Linked DNA regions of Homo sapiens: region 2 is linked to region 1. Evidence: promoter capture Hi-C in human tissues and cell types (Jung and others, 2019). All regions are on one chromosome and are shown on one strand. The core of a region is centred on a gene start or on the middle of the fragment in contact, and the rest is flanking DNA. Distances in the headings are between cores, read along the strand shown.

What was found. The method cuts DNA at HindIII sites, captures the fragments that hold promoters and counts their contacts. A contact is called where the count stands out against the background at its distance.
Region 2: a fragment that was not itself captured here is called in contact with the fragment with the promoter of XYLT1 in region 1 in 2 of the 25 tissues and cell types used here (IMR-90 fibroblasts and lymphoblastoid cells).

What each region holds. Positions count from the first base shown.
Region 1 is chr16:17,467,504-17,472,670 of GRCh38, forward strand. XYLT1 (xylosyltransferase 1) reads right to left here and starts at 3,457. Exons shown (of 12, transcript NM_022166.4): 1 at 2,931-3,457. The coding sequence starts at 3,293. It overlaps LOC107987234 (a long non-coding RNA gene), which reads right to left and starts at 2,924. Exons shown (of 2, transcript XR_001752091.2): 1 at 1-2,924. It overlaps LOC105371106 (a long non-coding RNA gene), which reads right to left. Exons shown (of 3, transcript XR_933144.3): 3 at 3,504-4,601. RefSeq lists enhancers at 572-641, 2,237-2,506, 2,627-2,676, 3,451-3,952. The HindIII fragment of the contact is 9,248 bases long and covers 1-4,519 here.
Region 2 is chr16:17,703,060-17,708,500 of GRCh38, forward strand. No RefSeq gene overlaps it. Among named protein-coding and RNA genes, the nearest start is that of XYLT1, 230 kb to the left of the region's middle. The HindIII fragment of the contact is 4,995 bases long and covers 1,008-5,441 here.

The sequences.
Region 1 (5,167 bases), core at 2,207-4,706:
ACCCAATAATTCTAATATTTAAGAGCTTTAAAAGAGGCTGAGAGGAAAAGGAGAGCTTGCAAATCTTTTATGGACATGCCCTCTGACTCTGTCTACTTGAGAAACGGGGTGTTTCCTCTTGGCTTCTTAAGTGCACCAAAAATACAATCAGGGCCTTCCACCGAAGCGCAGCTCCCCAAACATAAAAAGGACAAATGCTCTGAGGCTGTGGGCATCAGGAAGGAGGAAGATCTGGCTTAGGAAATGCCCTATACACAATGCCTGCCTGACACTCTCTGCAACACACCCACCAGCAACCCAGGACACAGGTTCCCTCTACATGCAAGAGCCAAGGCTGTCCACCCACCCCATCCCCACCTGCAACAGAGCACTGAGCTAAAGCATCTTCTTCTAAGCATGTGTCTAACCACCTCTCTACAAGAGCCATCTGGAAAATCACGGGGATTTGTTTCTTTAAATGTCCCACTCCTGAATCTCCCTCCAAAGCATCATCCTGGCAGCCTCCGCAGGGTCTGGAAACAAACTGCACATTTCAACGGCCTCTATTGCTTGCGAAAAGGTCTGGTCCTCTCCTTGCCTGCAACCCAAGCTCCAGCTATACCAGACTTTGGGAACAGCCTGCCCCCTTCTGGTCTCCTGGAGCTCCATGGAAGGGCAGGAACTGGGTGGGCACAGTCAGAGTAGGACAGACCCCGGGCTCCAGCCAGCCTGTCTGTACTGTGATTTCAGGATTTAGCAGGTCATGGAGTAGGTGTGGGGGGAGAGGAAAGAAAGGAGACAAGCAAATGAAATAAAATACAAAGCCCCAAGAGACAACAGTCAACAGCATGGTAGACAGCCACCAAGAAGAGAAGAGAACCAAAAGAAAAAAAAAATACATAAATGTCCATCTTGGAAGGTAAAGAAATTGAGACATTAGGACATGCAGATTTGGGGAGAGTAACTGAACTTGCAGTTGGAAGCAGAGTTTCAGAAAAGCAAAGCACCTCCGCTGCTGGAACTGCAATTCCAAAAGGAAGTAAAAAGGAAAATAGTGTGTTCCCACCTACCTCCCCAACCGCAGATCTCTCAGAGGCTGAGCTGGGTGTGAGAGAGTAAAACACTGAGCCGAGCACACAGAGAGGGGCTGGGGGTGGATGCTCACAATGCCGGGGACCTATGAAGAAATCAGCTAGCCCTGCCTCCTTCCTTCTCTTCATTTGTTTCAACAGGTGCTACATGCATCCTAAAGGTACCTCCTGAACCCACTCTGACCCCCAGATGCAAATGATACAGTAAGCCCCAGGCTTCCCCCACCATGTCTCCCCTACACGTTCTTACACTGGACCAGCAGGACACGACCCACAACCCTCCCACCCCACCTCCTGGGCTCTGGATGCACAAAGAACTTCTAATTGCATTTCTGCGGGAACCCATCACTATCAACTCCAAGAGTTCAAAGGCAGCGTTTCAGAGTACCCCTCTCTGTAAAGAAGAGATCGCAGGACACTAGGAATGTTCTGGTTCTCCGTCAGGCAGCTCACGCCACTATTCTCCCCGCAAATGAGGGAAAGACTTCTCCCTGCTACCCACACAGCAACGTGAAATGCCATCACATCACGTCTTGGGACTGGCTCAGTTCTCAGGCATGAAGAGCTGCACTCCGGCAGAAAGGGTCGCACAGACTCCGAAGAAGTTTAGCAGCTCAGAAAGCATCACGCTGTGTACTAAGGCAGTCTTCAGTGAGGACTTCCAAAGTGACAAATGATAGAAATATGCATTCAGTCTTCAGGATCCTGAAACCATCCCCCTGGTGTCTAATATCCTTTAACGGCTAGGCAAATCCTTGCAGACAAGTAGTGTGATGAAGAAACAGACAGACACACAACACATTGGCTATGCCCTAAGGCAGAACTCACGCCCCTGGAGAACTGAGACCTTGGCTCTGAAATGGGGACTCCGGCCTCCTGCCCCATGTGCTCCTGCTCCTAGCTCAGTAGGCTGGGCAAGGCAGCCCAGAGAAGGTGGGAAAGGTATCCCTGGAGAAGTTAGGGACAGGGTAGGAAGACAAGTCAGTTCCCCACCCAGCCACCCAGATGGCCCCAGATCTGCGGAAAAAACAGTTTCAGAGCCCTGACTGTTCACACCCACGAAGGGCAAAGTAATCCCATAGGAGTGGAAGCCCTGACGGTGTGGTCGGACACACAGCTGGTGACCTGAACCGGCCGCAACAAGACAGAAAGACAGAGACAACCAGCTAGGAGAAGGAGCCATGCCCTGAAACTGGAGATGGGGAGGAGATAAAGTCACAGAGGGCATGGGAGACGGCAAGGTTAGAGACAGAGAAGGTGAAGACGGAAGGCTCAAACATCCAGAGAAGAGAAACAGAAGACCCAAAGTAAGACCAGACACCCCGGACTGAGTATTGATTCAGGGGCATGGTCGGGGACTTGGGACGCCCAGCTCAGCCCTCATCGCAGGCCAGGACGAACAGAGGGCTCAACTGTCTGCACCCAGCTCGGCAAAAACCAGAGAGATGCTGCTGCGACAACCGCCCAGGAACAGCGGCTGAGGATCCGGGGAGATCCACTCACTCAGGCAGGGAGCGAGTCACCAAGACCTACACGCACGGAGCAAGTCACCTGGGGTCCCCAGCAAGAGTGATGGGGAACAGGAACCCAGCCAGGCTCCGGTAACCCCCAAAGCGCCCCCGCTGGAGAAAACTTCCCCCAGACCCCAAGGGGTCCGTGCTCAGACTCTGAAAGGGGCAGCCCACGACCCCTGAGCCTTGGCAGGGACCCCACCCGGCTTCCCGGGGCAAGAGGCGATGTGGAGTCGGTAGGCTTGCAGAGTCCCAGTCTGATGACCGAGTTCAAGGGCTAGGGGGGCGTGGGGTCGGGCTGCCTTCCTCCCTCCCTCGCCGCGGGGCGCGAGCCGAAAGGGCATCTTACCAGAGCCCGGGCGGGCAGTGCCCCCCGGCTGGCCGGCTGCTGTCCCCGCGGTTCTCCGGGGCCGCCTCCCCGCGCCCGCGCCTGGGGCCCCCGTCCTCCTCCTCCTCCGCCGCCGCCTCCTCCTCCTCCTCGGGCTGCAGCCGGCTCGGCGGGCAGGTCCCGGCGCTCCCGGCGCGGGGCCGGGGCCGGGGGCGGCTGCTCCCCGCCGCCGACCGCTGCGCCCCCGCGGCGCTCCCCGGCCCCGGAGTCGAGGCTGCTGAAATTCCACACGACCAGCGTCTGCAGCAGCAGCACCGTGAGCGCCGCGAGCAGCGCCGAGTGCGAGCGCCGGGCCAGCCTCCGGGCGCACGGCGCCGCCACCATCTTCGGAGCGCGGCCGGCGAGCGAGGCGCGGGGACCCCGGCACGCTCCGGGCCGCCCCCGCGCTCCCCGCAGCTCCCGCGGCCGCCGGCTGCCGCTCGGGCTCCCGCTCGGGCCGCCGCCGCCGCCCCCCTCCCCACACCCCTGTCCCCGCTGGAGGGGAGGGTGATGGGGAAGGCGCCGGGGGGACGCGGGCCGAGGCGGAGAGGGCGGGGCCTGGGGGAGGAGCCGAGGGAGGAAAAGGAGGAGGGAAAGGAAGGGGGTGGGGGCGATCAGAGAAGACAGACACCCCTCAGGACGTAGTGGGAGTAGGATGGGGGGCGAGGGGGACAATTCCCAAGGCGGAAAAAGAGAGGCAGGGGCCGCGAAACAGGGGACCTTTGGTTGAGGGTGGGCCCGCTCAGAATCCAGGGGAGGTCAGGAAGAGAGGGGGTCCCGAGGTCCTGTTTTCCCTGTGGGCCGCTGGAAGGAGGCAGTGCGTGGAGGAAGCTCCTAGCCCCGGAGTTCGCGGTCCAGGGATCTTCTGTCGGTACCAGACCGGTTGGCAGGTGGACACGTGAGAAACATTTCAGGAGTGTCAGAGCCACAGTCTGATCCCTTCATCCTGGGCTTGAAGGGGTGGGGAGGAGGCTTTGGGTGAGTTTCTGGAGTTAATCAGCACAAGCTCTGTGAGTGACTCCTGAATCACACACAATCCCCGGTGCCAACGATGTACTAAGTGTTCACTGAGTCACTTCTCTGGTCCCTGAGGACTCACAAGCCAAGAGACTCCAAACCCAGTTGGCAAGTGGTATAGCGGCAAAAGGGAGACCCGTGGAGTTACTCAACCTTCGCAGGATGCAAGCCCCAAAGGCTGGCCCCGCAGCCTCCCAGCGTGTCCTTTTCCCCATCCATCCTGAAGTCCCCCTTCCTGTCTGCACAGGGCCCAGGTCCTGGGGAAACAGGTCTTGCTCTTGAAAGTGGAGTTCTTTCCCATCCTGACTGGTCTGTCCCGGTGACCTTGAGCCAGGAGGAGGAGGACTCCTCCCTGAGCCCAAGCTTTCTCCTCTGTCGTTTAGGCAGAATGATCCCAATGGACTCAAATTTCATCCCGAGCCTTCTCTGACTCAGTCTTTCTGGTTTTTCCCTCCCTTGTCCTCTTGCCCAGGGCTTTATACACAGCAGCGCAGAACAGTGAGCATATGGGATGGCGTTGGTGTCCCATACGGGACCTAGCACTCTGGGAATACAACAGCAGATCAAATCAGTTTGTGAATTGAGGACTTGGCGTGAATGCTTCGCATCTTGTCTGCTGTGCTTTTTCACCTCATCCTAATTTACAAAGAGAAGAAAGTGGAGTGTAATGAAGGCTCATCAGACAATGAGGCAGGGAGTGGGAAGAGATTGTTTCATCCACTCCACAAGCATCCGTGAATACAAAGCTTGTGTCAGACACTGGGCCAGGTGCACGCATCCAAAGGTGAATGAGGTTTAATCTCATCTTCAGCAAGCCTGAGGTCTAGAGAAGCCTGATGTGGATGTTAATCATTAAAATATAGTGAGATAGGCCTGGGCGCGGTGGCTCATGCCTGTAATCGCAGCACTTTGGGAGGCCAAGACAGGAGGATCACCTGAGGTCAGAAGTTCGAGATCAGCCTTGCCAACATGGTGAAACCCCGTCTCTACTAAAAATACAAAAATTAGCCGGGCATGGTGGCACACACCCCTGATCCCAGCTACTCAGGAGGCTGAGGCAGGAGAATCTCTTGAACCCAGGAGGCAGAGGCTGCAGTGAGCCGAGATCACACCACTGCACTCCAGCCTGGGTTACAGAGCAAGACTCCATCTAAAAAACGTATATATAAATATATATATATTGTATATATATATATTATATA
Region 2 (5,441 bases), core at 2,255-4,754, 240 kb after region 1:
TCAGGCATTGAAAGCCATACTTTATGCCAGAAGAAAATTGAGTAATATATATAAGATACTCAAAGGAAGAGAGCATCAAGGATTTTATATCCAGCAAAAATTGATTTTCAAGTACAAAAGCCATAGACAAACTTATCACAGCTCAAGAACTCAAGAAATACTGTTTTTCTAAGCCTTTCCTGAGTAATCTACTGTAGAATGAGTTTTAGACAATCAAAATAACTTAAGGGTAAATAACATAATGATTGCTAATGAGCATCAAATAAAAATCAATTAAGGTAAATAGAATTAAGACAAAATGAAAACAAAGAGGGGAAGGAAATATTATGAAAGGCTATATGCTCTGGCAATGTGTATATAGTATAGCTATTAAGAATGATGAGACTAGGCCGGGCACGGTGGCTCACGCCTGCAATCCCAGCACTTTGGGAGGCTGAGGCGGGCAGATCATGAGGTCAGGAGATCGAGACCATCCTGGCTAGCACAGTGAAACCCCATCTCTACTAAAAATAAAAAATAAATTAAAAAAAGAATTAGCCGGGCGTGGTGGCAGGTGCCTGTAGTCCCAGCTACTCAGGAGGCTGAGGCAGGAGAATGGCGTGAACCCGGGAGGCAGAGCTTGCAGTGAGCTGAGATTGCGCCACTGCACTCCAGCCTGGGCGACAGAGCGAGACTCCGTCTCAGAAAAAAAAAAAAAAAAAAAAAAAAAAAAGAATAGTGAGACTATATAGGTTGGTCATAATTCGTAGATCTGTGTACCTGAAATGGATAACTTTGCTGTTACCCTAAATTTTAGCTCAATGAACTTGAAAAAAGAAGGGGATAAGAAGAACATACACCAAAAAATTTTAAGTGTTTTAAGTAATCATAATGGAGATGATATGATTATTATTATATTATTACTATTCAGGGACTGTTATATACGTAAAATTGGATAAAATGAGGAATTATAATTTTATCATCCTCTAGGTCCTTGAAAACTAAGTTTCTTGGAATGGAAGAGTACTTATTGATATAATAGAAATGAGGTTTAAAATAAAACCTCAGAAATCTTGACTTAGAATTAGAAATATCAATATGAATCCATGAGATATTTTGTATATTATGTTATAATTTGTTTCTTAAAAACTTCTAGAGACAACAACCAACTCAACAGCAATGAATATCCCTAAGTGCCCAAGTTATGGTCTTGAAATACCATTCATCTAAAAGACACCAGGGCTTCTTGGAGAAATAGCTGATTCCAAGTGTGGGATCAGAAATATACAGGACTAGCCTGGAATACAGTATAATTCCAGATAGGATTACAGCTGTCAAAGACCACAAGGGTCACATAGAAAAGGCCCAGTAGCAAACTCAAACAGGCTTGCATTGGCAAAGATGGGAGAAGTTGAACTTCAACAAAGATAATAAGGGGTAGTGAATTAAAATTCCAGTATGTTGAAGCCTATGAGTTCATAATGCAATTTGTAAAAAGAACAAACAAACAACAACAAAAAAACTGATACCTTTTGGGGATGACAAGAAACCAATTCATTATATTGAAAACTGGTAAATAAAGAAAAATAAGCACATATTCTGCATTTTTCATGTGAACATACTGGGTAATCACATAGTAAACGAAATAAACGGCCTCTGTCAAAGTGCTTGACTGATAAGTGAAACACAAATCATAGCATCAGAACATTATCGTGTTAGGCTGAATAAGAGCCCCCTGAATTGTCCAAATATTAATCCCTAGACCTATGAATGCTATCTTATATGGCAGCAAAAGGGTTTTTGCAGGTGTGACTAAGAATCCTGAGATAGGGAGGTGATCTTGATGGGCAAGATGTAATCTCAGGGTTCCTTATAGGAGGGAATCAGAGAGACGAAAGACAAAACAGTAGTGAAAGCACAGAGAAATCTGAAGATGCTAAATTGCTGCCTTTGAAGATGGGTGAAGGGGCTATGAGCCAAGGAATCCAATTCCCAACTCTGGAAAAGGTAAGAAAACAAATTCTTCCCTGGAGACTCTTAAGGGAGCGAACTCCTTAGTTTCAGCCCAATGAACCCACTTGGGACCTTGGGCCTATAGAACTCTAAGAATAAATTTGTGTCATTTTAAATAGCTAGGTTTGTGGCAATTTGTTACCACAGCCATTGAAAGAAAATAAGACAATCAACATTTTGCAACCACCAATAAATAAATATGTTACAATTTTAAAAGTAAAAATTAAAAAGAAACAGAAAAAAGGCTGAGAGATTAAGAAATACTGAAAACAGGCAACAGAGGCTGAACACAGGGATAGCAGGAATTTGTGCAGATGAAAACCAAAGCAAGGGAACAGAAGAAATCCTAAAAATGCTATTTCAAGAAAATATTCCTTAAATTAAAAAAAAACAATTTGAAACTACATTTTTATTTATTTGTTGTTGTTATTATTTTTAAGATGGAGTCTTGCTCTGCTGCCCAGACGGGAGTGCAGTGGTGTGATCTCGGCTCACTGCAACCTCTGCCTCCTGGGTTCAAGCAATTCTCCTCTCTCAGCCTCCAGAGTAGCTGGGTTAACAGGTGTGTACCACCATGCCCGGCTAATTTTTGTATTTTTAGTAGAGATGGGTTTTCACCATGTTGGCCAGGATGGCCTCCATCTCTTGACCTTGTGATCCATCCACCTTGGCCCCGCAAAGTGCCGGGATTACAGGCAAGAACCACCGTGCCCAGCTGTAATGTTCACTTTATAAAAATTCATTAAACCATACAATTGACTTGTGTGTTTTTCTGTATCTGTGTGTTGCCTTAGGACTATAATTATGACGTTTAATGAAATAAAATACAGGCTTCAGACAGCCTTCATTAAACAGAAGACTATTAAATAGATGACAAGAAATCAAAAATCTAAAGATAAAACATATATAAATGGTTTAAAAAAGTCAATGAGCAGGTTTAACTTCAGATTAGATACAAATGTAGAAGAATAGGGGAACTGGAAGACAAGTCGAAAGAAATTATGAAGCAGCAGCTGAGAGACGACCCAAACAGACCAGGGAATTCTAACGTATTTATAATCAGAATTCAAGCAGGTGAAGGCAGAAAGAATGAAGAAAAGCAAACCTATGATGATATTATGAGAATTTTTCAGAATGATTACAGGAGAGTAAACACAGAGTCAAGGAGCCCAATAAATATCCAGCAGGAAGAAAAGCAAAACAAACAATGAAACCCCTCATCTAGACATGTCAGACTGAAATGGCAGAATACTAGCTACAAAGAGAAGAACATAAAAGAAGTCAGAAAAAAATTACCTTCAAAAGATTTACAGTTAGCCCTACAGCTGACTTCATTAGTAACAATAGAATAAAGATCATTCTGAAGGCTTAGTCTCTGAAGATGGCAAGGGGGAAAACTTTAAAGAGGGAAAGACTTCAGATTTTAATTTAATTTCTGCAGGCCTGTAATGCATCTCATTAAAATTACCACAAGAAGGAAAGAAGAGGAAAGGAGGGAGAAGGTAGGAAGGAAGAAAAAGAGATAAGGAGAGGAGAGAGGAATAAAACATAAATTTAAGTGCAGAGTCCTTAATTCCTGTCTGGCCCCATATCACAATATTCAAGGCAGTGGTGGCCTAATAAATGTTTTAACAGATGGATCTCTGAAACAAAAAGCCAAGATTCTGTAGCATTTGCCAATTTCTATGGAGAAAGCACCCATACAAAGCCTGATTTCAAGCTACTACCATGACATCACTGAGCTTGGATTTGGGAAGTTATATGCATAGTCAGCTCCCTCAATCTGGTAGGAGGAGATGGTTCCAACACCGTTGCTGGTTTCAAGGTCTCACACGCTGCTATTAGTGGGCCAGTCCAAAAATCAAATCTGTATCTCTCAAAAGTCCCAATCCTTTCCTCTTGATGCATCTAAAAATGTGATTACCACCTTCTTGGTATGAAGAAGCCCAGGTTCAATTTAGAGCGATTTCAGTGTCTGGACCATTGCGAGGGAAGTTAGTTGCTTAGTAGAGGCTGGTCTTGTAGGTGATGTCCAAAGTATACTAGCTTAGGAGAAGCCATTGGTCCTCTAGAAGTCATAGGTACTAGGCAAAAATCTTTTCTTAGAAAAAAACAATTATTTGACAGTGTGCTGATTAGGAGGATTCCAAATCTAAATAAGCCCAGTCCTTCAGGTTAAAAGTGTTTTGATTTCCTCACTTAACCATTTACACACACCACCCAATATAGTCTAACCATAGTGCAAAAAGTTATCCCACAGGCAAGTTTGTTTACATGTTTGCAGACACTGTATTGGTTTTCAAGTCGAAAGCCAATAACCCCTATGGAACATGCCCTATAGATTACAAAAGTTTACTAAAAACTGTTAAGTTTTAATAATAGACTACAACTTGAACACTTGGCATATTCTGTAATAAGAAAAACACAAACTTATGTACACGCATACAACTTCCCTTATCTTGTATTCTAGAAAATGAGAAAGATTGGAGTAGTCATGATTGGGCACAGTCCCATTTCATGCAAGTTTAAACTTCCTTGGGTTGGGACTAGTTTCACTTGGGCCACCTCTTGGTCTACTGGTATGAGAAATTAGAAATGTAGAGATCCTCGGGCACCCCCAGAATGGCTTAGTTTAGAGTCTACTAACTGTAGCATTGGTGAAAAACAGGCCACGGGGGGATAGCCCTATTTGAAGCCTTCTCATAGGTTGAAACCTTAGATGCTTTGGACCTTAGCACTTAGCTAACACACAGCTGCTTCCTGCCATAAGCTAACTGCCGACATACAAGATGAGAAGTCTTCCTAAGGTCTATGTATCTTAGACGCCCAGAACCACCATTTGCTATGTTTTTATGGATCAGTGCCAAAAAGAGACCATTGGTCTAGTTTCTCTCTATGCTTATAATTACTTTCATTATGATTATCCCATTACTCTGCTCTTCCACTGACTCTTAGTTAGGTACCCTCCAGCCCTCTTAGTAGAACGTCTTAAGTGAAATAATCGGGACCAAGTATTGTGGGAATGTTAGCGTCTTCTTAGAAAACCCCTGGCCTCTATATGCAAAGTGCCCTTCTCCCCTTTGCAGACAAAGAGAAGTGTGTAGGTAGGGCCTCTATGTCAAATCGAAGACCTCATTATAATAGTTTCCAAATCTAGGTCTGCTCAGCTTATATCTGCTTATTAAAGAGCATAGACAGCTGCTCTCAATTGACCTTCTTTTCCCCACCAGAATGAAGAGCAGCTGGCAGCTTCTTTAGCTAAAGAAGGGAAAAATCTGGTTTGGCTATTCCACTCCACAGGGACTCAGTATGAACCTACTGTCAAAATCAGGGAGAAGCTTCCACTAACAAGACTGATGGATAAAACTGAAAATGGGCATGTAAATGTCTCACTAGACATACTGTAGGACACTCACTCTCCCTACAGCCCCTTGTATCTCCTGCACACA